Regions from separate parts of the Homo sapiens genome. Here region 1 is linked to region 2. Evidence: promoter capture Hi-C in 16 types of primary human blood cells and fetal thymus (Javierre and others, 2016). All regions are on one chromosome and are shown on one strand. The core of a region is centred on a gene start or on the middle of the fragment in contact, and the rest is flanking DNA. Distances in the headings are between cores, read along the strand shown.

Region 1 (4,964 bases), core at 372-2,871, 5.0 Mb before region 2:
ATATAGAAGCACTCTGCAGCAACATTACCCACACAGCTCTGATTAAATTAGGAATAAATTTAGACTTAAAGGTTACCATTTTTATATTTAAACATAATCTCTCAATTCAAAGGCCCCCAAGCCCAGAAACCCCAATTCAATCTACTGTCTTTGTGATATGTTCTGCAATTTCAGCTATCAAATAAATATGAGTCCAACTTTATAATCGGCAACTAACAAGTTATATTAATTGTATGCAAGTGTAGAAAACTATCTTCAGATTAGGACTAAAAGTTTGGTTAAAAAAAAAAAAGATTGACATCCCCCACACCCTCTCCAAAAACAACTCTCTTAGACTTGCTTTAAAAGATGCTGCTAAAAAGTGATTTGAAATCCTCATAGTGGCCTTGGGTGGAATAAAAAGGACAGGCAGGGCCAGAGCAGCTATGATTCTATCTGATTTACAAAGAAAAATTCCCAACAAAGATTTACTATGACGGGCCCTTTATGTATACTGTTAACACACGTAACAAACTAATGAGGCAGAGAGTGTTATCCTCTTTTTTTTTGTTTTAACAAAACTATCAACAAATTTAGGAAGAATAAATAACTTGTCCTTGGTCACATGGGTCATTTGTAATAATACCAAGACCCCAGGTCTGTCTAAATTCAAGACCTATACTTTTCCTTTAAAATCACAGATATCTAAATAATGCATATCCACTGCCAAAACATTTAATCTTCTTTTTCAAATTATTTTTTTCAATTATTTCATTTATTGTGCTAGCCAGAGACTACAGTGGTAAATAAGACAAGGTCCTCATAGTCTAAGGCAGCATTTCTCAACCAAAGATCCTCATTTGAACTACAGAACACAAAATGATTTGAGTAATAACTCTTTTTCTCAATTTTCCCAAGGAAAGTAATAACTAATAGCACTCTAGATGCACAGGGCGAAGTTAGTTCTTTACATACAATGGATACCTTAGCATTAGGGTTTAATTCTTTCCCTCAATGCTGGTTGAGAAAGGCTGCTGTAAGGGAAAAGAAACACTAAATAATAAATTACAAGCATAAAATGTGTTTTATTATTGATAGTAAAATATAATTTGAAAAAGTGAGCATGGCTTACATCAACTTAGAATTCAGAAATAGTATGTAATTGACACATACAATCATGAAGGTTAAGAGTATGTTAAAGTGAGACTGAAAGCATACTCCCTGGTTCAAATACTGACTCCATGTCTATCACCATTACCTTGGCTTCTAAGCTTCATCTGTAAAATGGAGACGAGACAAAACAAACAAACAAAAAACACCTACCTTTTAGGCTTTCAAAGGACAAAGCTAATTCTTAAAATATTTAAATTAGATGTTGTATAAAAAAGACTCAGAATAGCCAAGTAGCCCTCAATAAATCTTAGCTACTAGTATTATTACAATTCACACACCTACTATTTACAAAGCACTATGTTAGGCACTGAGGGAAACAACAATGAGTAAGATGGGAACTGTATCTCCAAAGAATTTCTGATGTAGCGTGAGATATGACATCCATGCAAACAGCTATGACCTAGGCAGAAAGGGAAAAAAGGTATCAGAGAGAGGTAAAAAACAAACAATGAACGTCATACCCAATTTTCGAAGAATTCTTTTGCATTCATCCCTGCTGAGATCCAGAAGGGTTGGCCACACAACAGGCATTGCTGCTTCTGTTTGGTAGCCCCAAAGAGCTTGTCCTCCCTACCAGAACAAAAAAAAAAAGTCAAATTACCAAAGTACCAAAGTACATTCAAGGGGCCACTCACCTGGAGATCCAGTCACAGGCTAAGAAGTAAACCAAAAAGATATTACTATTTTACAATCCTTTCTCACCACCACACTTTCCAACTTTTGAGAAATCAAGAATTAAGTCATTTGAACTATCACAGTGGAAAGAACACAGGCTTTAGAGCCAGACACCTCTAGGTTTCTAGTCCCAACTTTTCAACTTACTGGTTAAGCCTAAGCTTTACACATCTATAAAACAGAGGTAATACCACCCAGTTTGTTACGCGTATTAAAGAACACTATATATAAAGTTCTTTCATAGTGGCTGGCATTTCATTTAATAAACAGGTGGTACTACCAACCTGGGGCAAGTTGACTCCTGTCAGCTTCCTCATTTATGAATTACATGAGATAAAATTTGTAAAGCTCCTAGCAAGTTAAAGAAACTTAATAAATAACTCCTCGTGCTCGCTTCAGCAACACATATACTAAAATTGGAACGATACATACATATATATATATACACATATATATATACATATATATATACACACACACACATATATATATACTCTCTCAAGTCTTAATGGAATATGAATTTTGATCCTGTAGTTATTAAACAGCCATTTACCAACAGTTGAGCTGCCAGGAACTTACTTAGAACTGGGAATTTCCTAGTGTAAAAGACAAAAAGACACGGCTCTGGGGGCACGCGCAATACCTGCTTAGCACAGAGTAGAGCCGCTCTAAGTATTTGTTAAATGGGTAAGTGAATGGTTGACGCGACTGAGCAAAACGAATGGATGAATGAATGAATGAACGAGCTCACTGTCTAGCCTAGAAGTCAGACACCGAACCGAAATAACTGCTATATCCCGTTCCAGGCGCTGGGGCTGCTAACTCCAACTCTGTGTCCCGAGGTGAGCCCCCCTCCCCCTACTTCCCATAGTCCTCTCAGCTCAGAACAAACCCAAGGCAAGAAGAACTGGACTGCGCGCCCCAGCCGGCAGTATGACATAAAGAAAAGGGGTGGGGAGGAGGAAGAAGGGGCAGAGCCAAAGGAATCCTCTCCCTCCACAAGCCAGTCCCCGCCTCCCGACAGGATCTTGGAGGCGGCCGGCGACTGCTCGAACCGAGCACCACGTCACGGCATCCCGGCGCGTCCTAGCCAGGGGACCCCAGAGCGGGGCCGCAACGCATCGGAAACCCGGGCAGTAGTTTCCGGAGCCCGCTCGGGGAACCAGGATCTTGTAGGATCCTTCCCCACTCAAGTGTCAAGGAGACAAGCCCGCCCCGCCCCCTCTCCAAACACGCACTCCCTAGCAGCACCACAACAAGAGCAGCCAGCCCAGGCTCCTCACCCGGACCTCTCGGCGCCGGTCCCAATGTCAAGTCCACGACCCAAGCCCCTCTGGGCCAGTAGCTGTTGTCAGGGGTCCCGGCCGGCACCCGCGCCTCACTCCCTCCCCAGCGGAGAGGACAACCGAGAGAGAGTAAGCCAGCGGATACCCAGCCAGACGACCTGGACTCACCGGGAGTCTCCCAGAGCTAAACCCCCAGAGTCCCAGCACCAGGCCAGCCAGAGTCCCCCTGAGTCCACCCCGGGGAGCCCCACGATCCCGTTAGGAAACAACGGAGGATGGGGCTGGGAGCCCCAAGCCGGGCTCCGAATGCTTGGCCCGGCGCTCCTCTAGCCTGGCTGGCCTGCCAGCTCTTCCCAGGACCCTGCCTGAGAGTCACCCACCTGCCCGGCCTTTCGGGGCTCATCTAAAAGGCTCCTCCGCCAAGACTAGGGGACACCAGGAATTGGGTTTGTTTGCGGTGCCTCTGAAGGGGCAAGATGGCGACAGGTAACAGGGCGCAGGCGCAGCCGCGCGCGGCCAGTCGGGAGGTGTAGTTCGCTTTTCCCGCCTTTCGGAGAACAAACACCAAAAGGCCTCCATTCATCTTGTCCTTCTTTTCCTCCGCGTTATGAAAGAAAAGGACAGACATCGCGGAGGGTGCTGGGAGTTGTGGTCCGAATCCAAACTCCAACCTCTTTCGCTCCAGGTTTGCTGTCGTACGCGCAAGGAAGGCCGGGATTGTAGTTCCCTTGGTTTCTCCTGCATACCCTCCTGTCTCTGGCTTCGCGCGCCTCTCCTGGGCTGCCGTCTCCCAGCCAATCGGCTGCGCTCTCTGCTACGTGTGGCGTCACACGTAGCGGCCAAGATGGCGCTAGCGGTTGGAGCAGGGGCTCTGCTGCGACCTTTACGGTAGTGAGGTTAGGGACGATGGGAGAGCAGCTTTGTTCCTGAAGTGCCGTCGAGGATTAGGATCGAGTTTCTTCGATCGTGAGGGCAATTATTAGTGGCCTCTAGCCCCCCAGATGGCATCTTGAGGAGAGAGAATCCACGCTACGAGAACTAACATAGTGGACATCGCAGTTGTCCGTAGCCGATTTGCGGGTTACGGAGTTGTTGCAAGTAAAGAAGGGGAAATCCGAGCGTTCTCGCGTTGGATTTCCTCCACGTGTGAAGTGGGAATGGTAGTGATATCTCGTGCTATCTCTGTCAAGGGCAAGAAGGAGAAGGAATTTATTTGAGGCCCTACGACGTGGTAGGTTCACCCTCAGCCTTTGTTCTTATTTCATCTTATTTGTGGAGAAGGTCTTTTCGTTCCTATTTTACAGGTGAGAAAAGGGGCCCAATATATAGTTATTTGCGGCCATAAAATAGAAGCCAGTTGCCTGATACTGAAGATTCAATGAAATCTTGTGATTGACTTCCCTCTTTAAATTTTGTACTTTGGGTAACATCGGATCCGGTAGAAACGCTCGTCAGAAAGAGTTTTTAATGTGCATTCTACAATTTCCAGACATAGTTTCCTTCTTGAAAAATTGGGTTAATACTACCCTATAGGGATCTTGTGATGCACCACGTAAACGTTGTAAGTTGTGAACCACTATACAAACGTATGAGACTCTTCATGTTCTTGAGTGGAACTGTAGGTTAGGAAGAGAAGGTAAATAACAGCATTTAAGTTTCCTACTACTATTTGCCCATTAGCTAAAAATACCCTCCGAGGTCTAGGAAAGTCACTGTTGTTGAAACCCAACCTACACCTTCAGAAAATCGTAAAGTGGAACATATTAATCACCAGGCCCTCCCTCCGCTGTCTCCCTGACCTTCCTATGCATCCAGTTGCTTAAGAACTCTTGGAAAGATAGTAAGTGAAAT
Region 2 (5,061 bases), core at 2,503-5,002:
AAGGCTTTATTTCTTGTAAACGGTCGTAGCCTGCAAGGTGGCGGCCATCTGTCTGAGGCTGGGAATCTGTCTCCAGCCAAGGCCAGAGACAGGCACGTCCAAGGAGGAGGGGTTGGGGCAGGAGCGCTATGCTGAAGGGATTGGCTAAACATACATATTCAACAGGTAACAGGAGGAGCTATGAATATTCATGAAGGTGGTCCTGACACATGCCCTCTTATTGAGCAAAGCATGTAATATATGACCCATGTTCACTTTGGGGTGGAGACTTAACATTTACACATCTTACAATTAGGGCCTTTATGGCAAAACGTCTTTTCAGGACACAAAGGCATGCAGGTGCATCATCTCTCTCTATTAACGGGTCAGCTGGTCGGCATGGTCAGCTGGTCGGTGGTCTCTTATTAGGAGAAAGTCACTGAAATCAGTCTCTTGTCCAATCACAGCTGCTATGGCTGGTGAAACAGAGTCAGTTAGTTGGCACCTAGTGGAGCTGCAATTGTTTTAATATTCCCTATCCCAAGGCTAGTGTGTGTTTGGCTAATAGAGAAACAGAAAGCCTTGTGGCTCTTAGAATATAGTTTATTCTCTAAGTGTGGGTTGCCTGACTTACCCTCGCCTAGCATGGCTTTGGGTCCTGTTTATAATTTGGTATCTTATTGCCACAGAGTCCGTTCTGTCAGTCTTACGATCTCTGTTTTAACATGAATGCCGGCCAGTTGTGGTGTCCAAACTCTGAAACAGGGGGCTATTACCAGGCGCATCTGACCTCCCATCCCATCATGTCTGGGAATTCAGTGTTGAGGTTTTTCTGGTGTCCCCTTGGTCAGGAGAAGGTCCCTTTGGTCAATGGGGGGCTTAGGATTTTATTTTTACCTTATGTACATATACCCGTTTTCACATTTTGAATCACTTTTTTTCCTGTCTATAAAGTAGTGCTTGTTCATGACAATTTGGAAACTCCACAAAAGCACCAGAATGTTATACATGCTAACTTATTTAATCCTCACAGTAGTTTTCATGCTTCTGAAATCCACACGATCTGCTCAAATTATCTCCTGCCAACAATGGCTGATGCCAGGCCTGGGCAGAGAAGGGGAGGATCCTTGAACATCTGGTTGTCCCAGAAAATAAGTAAGTACTCAAAGGATGGTAGATACATGTCATATGAAAAAAGAAGCCAATTTGAAGGGGCTCCCGTTAGCTAAATACAGGACAATACAGTAAGGATCATAACTCGGTCAGCTAAATCCATTAGGGCATACTGATAAAAAATAAATCAAAGAGGAAATCCCTACAGAAGAATGCTTGCTAATAAATAATTTATTAATAAATGTTGAGGGAATGATAAAATTAGAAAATTAACACTTTGTCCCAAGAAATAAGGGATTCAGGCAAGATTCCTCATTAAATGCTAGTTCACTGGGTGAAAGGTCATTTGGGAACAGCATATTTACAGTCTCAAAGTATCACTGCACCAATTACTCATTAATAACAAAAGGAAAAATGGAGACTTCTGGCAGAAACCACGGAGCCCCACTATCAATCATGGAGCACAGTGATATGTTGTCTTAAAAAAGAAAATTTTAGGACTCTTGAAATTTATTAGGTCAACTTGGGCAACAGAGCAAGATCCTGTCTTTAAATAAATAAATAAAAATAAATAAATTTATTATGTCAAGAGGGAAGTTAAGTCCTAGAAACTGGGTCACATAGCATGTTTGTAATTTTGTCTTTTAGATTATAGGCTGTTTTTCTTTATCATTCATGTTTTATAAATGACTAGGAGAGACCACAGACCAGGCCTGCTCCCCTTTTAATTACTGATCTTTATTATAGATTGTCTCTTATTATCCCGTACTTAGACCAGACTCCTACATCTTCAGTGTAAAATGTTAAATATACCTTCCACCTAAAAAAGACCACCTCAGCTGGTCAGATTATAACTTTATGCATAAAAAGATGTTAAAATTCTGTTAAACTTCCCTAAAATTTGTCTACATAAATGATCCCAAACATCTACAGTTCAAAATACTGATTTCCATTCTTTAAAATCTGTGCTTCCCAGGCAGCCTGTCCTCAAACTTTATACACTTAAATAAACTCTCTTTAAGCTAAATTCTGACCTGTTTGGTTATTTCAGGTTGACAGCCTTCTAACAAGATAAAACATGCTCTATGTAGTATATTATCCTGCCAAAAAAAGTGCATAGCCTGAATGCACAGTGTGGCTCCCTGATTAGATCCTGGGGTTTAAAAAAGGGCTGTAGGGCAGAGCTTCACACCTGTAGTCCCAGCACTGTAGGAGGCCACAGTGGGTGGATCGCTTGAGCCCAGGAGTTCGAGACCAGCTTGGGGAACATAGTGAGACCCCCCCCCCCACCCATCTCTACCAAAAAAAAAATAGCGTGTGGTGGTGTGCTCTTGTAGTCCCAGCTACTCAGGAGGGTGAGGGAAGAGAATCGCTTGAGCCCAGCAGTTCAAGGCTGCAGTGAGCTGTGATCGTGCCACTACACTCCAGCCTGTGTGACAGAGACCCCCGTCTTAACAAAGCAAAACAAAACAACAATAACAAAAGGGCTGTAAAGGGCATTATTGGGACAACCGCGGGAAACTGGAGATGGAAAATAGATAACAGCATTGAACTGATGTGGTCATTGTATTTTGGTAATATAGGAGGTTCTTGTTCTTAAGGAGTTGGATACCGAAGTATTTGGGAGGGGGGTATCACGGTATCTGCAGCTAATGGTGGGGGCTGAGTGGGGAGGAAAAAAGAAAAATACACATATATAAACACAGAGGGAGAGAAATGAAACGTGGCCAGCTGCTCACCCCTGCTGAACCTAGGAATCTGCGTGCTCACTTTACGTTCAACTTGTTTGTATGCTGAACATTTTTCAAAACAAAAAGGTGCAGGGAAAAAAGAAAACATGATGTCTCTCTGAGGGCCACAGAGACGTGGCAACCAGATCGCTCTGACAGTAAGGCCTGTTACCCGAGCTGTTGGGTGTGGGGTCAGCAGACACCTTCAGCTGCCCCCTCCTCCAGGGCTGCCTCGCCCCAGGTCATGCCCTCGCAACGTGGCCCGTGCGTCCGGCTCGCACTGTGGCTCAGCTTCTCCCTTTGCCCAGTCCTGCTGCTCCCTCCCCTCCCGTCCTCGCACAGGTGTGCCCCCCTAATAAGCAGGCCACCCAGACTCCATCTCGGGTCACTTTGGCGGTCTCCCAGCGGCGAGCCTTCCCTGACACCCATGTGTTTACCTGATCGTTTATGGAGGATCCTCTTCGCCCCGGGACGTGAGCCCTAGGACCAAGAACTGTGTCTGTTTTGCTCCTTGCGGTGCACCGGCGCCTGGACATACGCTCCATCAATGTGCGTCGCGAGCCGCTGAAGCCCCATTTGCCGAGGGGGAAACTGAGGCACGATGATCCAGGTGATGAGCCTGGCGCGTTCTCCGCGCGGCCCACGTGGCCACTCCGCCACGCCCCACCCCCAGCTGGTCAGCTGGGATCCCGAAGAAGCGCCAGAGGCTGCGCCCACCCACTAGGGCCCGGGCGGGCCGGTGGGGCGGCAGGGCGGGGCCTGGGCCGTCAATCTCGAGTCCGGCCGCTGCCGAATGGCGGGCGCGGTGGGCCCGGAGTCAGCTCAGGCTCCTCGACCAATCACGGGGCGCGGAGCCGCCGGGCGTGCAGGGTCCGCCTCCGATTGGCAGGCAATCGCTGACATCATCCGGGGGCGGGCGCCCCTGCCCTGCGGGTGACTCCGACCCCTGGCTAGAGGGTAGGCGGCGTGGAGCAGCGCGCGCAAGCGAGGCCAGGGGAAGGTGGGCGCAGGTGAGGGGCCGAGGTGTGCGCAGGTGAGTGGCCAAGGTGTGCGCAGGTGAGGCCAGGGGAAGGTGTGCGCAGTGGGGGGCGCTTGCCCAGGTGAGCAGGTGCCCACTCACAGGGCGAGGGTGGGGTCAGGGGTAGGGGGCGTGCGCGCAGGTGGGGAGAGGGTCCAGCTCACAGGCGAGGGGCCGCTGGGGCTCCGGGGAGGCGGGGCGGAGGCGTGGATAGTCCCCCTCCCCCACGAGCCGGCGTCTGAGGGATGCTCTGTCCCCGCGCTGTCTGGAGCTTCCCCGGGCGAAGGCTGCCTGGCTCCGGGGTCGGCTCCTGGCCCCATGCCGCGCTCCGCGGCGGCTCTTTCTCCTGCCCCACCTGTTGTTCGCCTCCCTCTTTGTCAGTGCTGAGCCAGGCACAGCAGCTTTGCGATGGGACTGGCTTGTCCGCCGTCCTCCCTGACATGCGGCTGTTGAAGCCCTGAGCACTGGACCTTCTGCCTCTTGCTTGACTCCTACTGTGGGCCTTGAGCTTCTGCCCTCTCCTGAAATGTCAGCTGCCTGCGGTCTTATTCATTTTTGTGTTCCTTGCAGGACTTTAGCCGGTTGAGAAGGATCAAGCAGGCATTTGGAGCACAGGTGTCTAGAAACTTTTAAGGGGCCGGTTCAAGAAGGAAAAGTTCCCTTCTGCTGTGAAACTATTTGGCAAGAGGCTGGAGGTAAGTGTATCTCAGTGCCCTGGATCGTGGGCGCAGGCTATGGCTTCACAGCGTTGAAAGTACAGACAGACTGGTCCACCAGCTCTCGAGTGCCAACGACTGTCTGTGCCTCTTATGAGTAAAATACAACATACCAGGGCACCTCCCCTTTGTCTGTTCCCAGCCGTCTATTGGGAAGGATGTTACTTAGATGTTTATTGCACAACTCAATGCTTGTGGCTAAAGAGCTGACTCCTGGGTGAATGAACTCTGTAATAAGCTAAAAGTACTTCTTTGGTCTTGTTTTAATCCCTTTTGACAACATTCTCCCAGTGGCTTTTTCACACTTTAGTTCTGAGGTTACACATCCCCTGACCCTTTTGCAATTTCCCAGTGTTTTACATAATTGATAATGTTGGTACCAGGCATTGTCCCCTTGTAGCTTATCCATGGCTTGGGGCAAGACGAATGCCACCCCATTCTACTTAGCCTTCCTGTAAGGCAAGTGTGCATGTGGGTGGTCTGGATTAACACCAGTCAGTGTGGG

What was found. Contacts are between HindIII fragments. The CHiCAGO score rates a contact against its expected background, and 5 or more counts as called.
Region 1: a fragment that was not itself captured here is called in contact with the fragment with the promoter of DHCR7 in region 2 in 1 of 17 cell types (naive CD4 T cells); the score reaches 5.1 in naive CD4 T cells.

The regions. Positions count from the first base shown.
Region 1 is chr11:76,443,658-76,448,621 of GRCh38, reverse strand. EMSY (EMSY transcriptional repressor, BRCA2 interacting) reads right to left here and starts at 3,604. Exons shown (of 22, transcript NM_001300942.2): 1 at 3,494-3,604; 2 at 1,614-1,722. The coding sequence starts at 1,683. It overlaps EMSY-DT (EMSY divergent transcript), which reads left to right and starts at 3,942. Exons shown (of 2, transcript NR_186348.1): 1 at 3,942-4,344. RefSeq lists enhancers at 2,603-2,897, 3,037-3,106, 3,147-3,196, 3,397-3,626, 3,327-3,963 and 1 more. The HindIII fragment of the contact is 738 bases long and covers 1,253-1,990 here.
Region 2 is chr11:71,447,084-71,452,144 of GRCh38, reverse strand. DHCR7 (7-dehydrocholesterol reductase) reads left to right here and starts at 3,752. Exons shown (of 9, transcript NM_001360.3): 1 at 3,752-3,855; 2 at 4,411-4,535. It overlaps DHCR7-DT (DHCR7 divergent transcript), which reads right to left and starts at 3,617. Exons shown (of 2, transcript NR_186309.1): 1 at 3,260-3,617; 2 at 1-455. RefSeq lists enhancers at 24-103, 224-273, 3,219-3,720 and a silencer at 3,446-4,085. The HindIII fragment of the contact is 9,377 bases long and covers 1-5,061 here.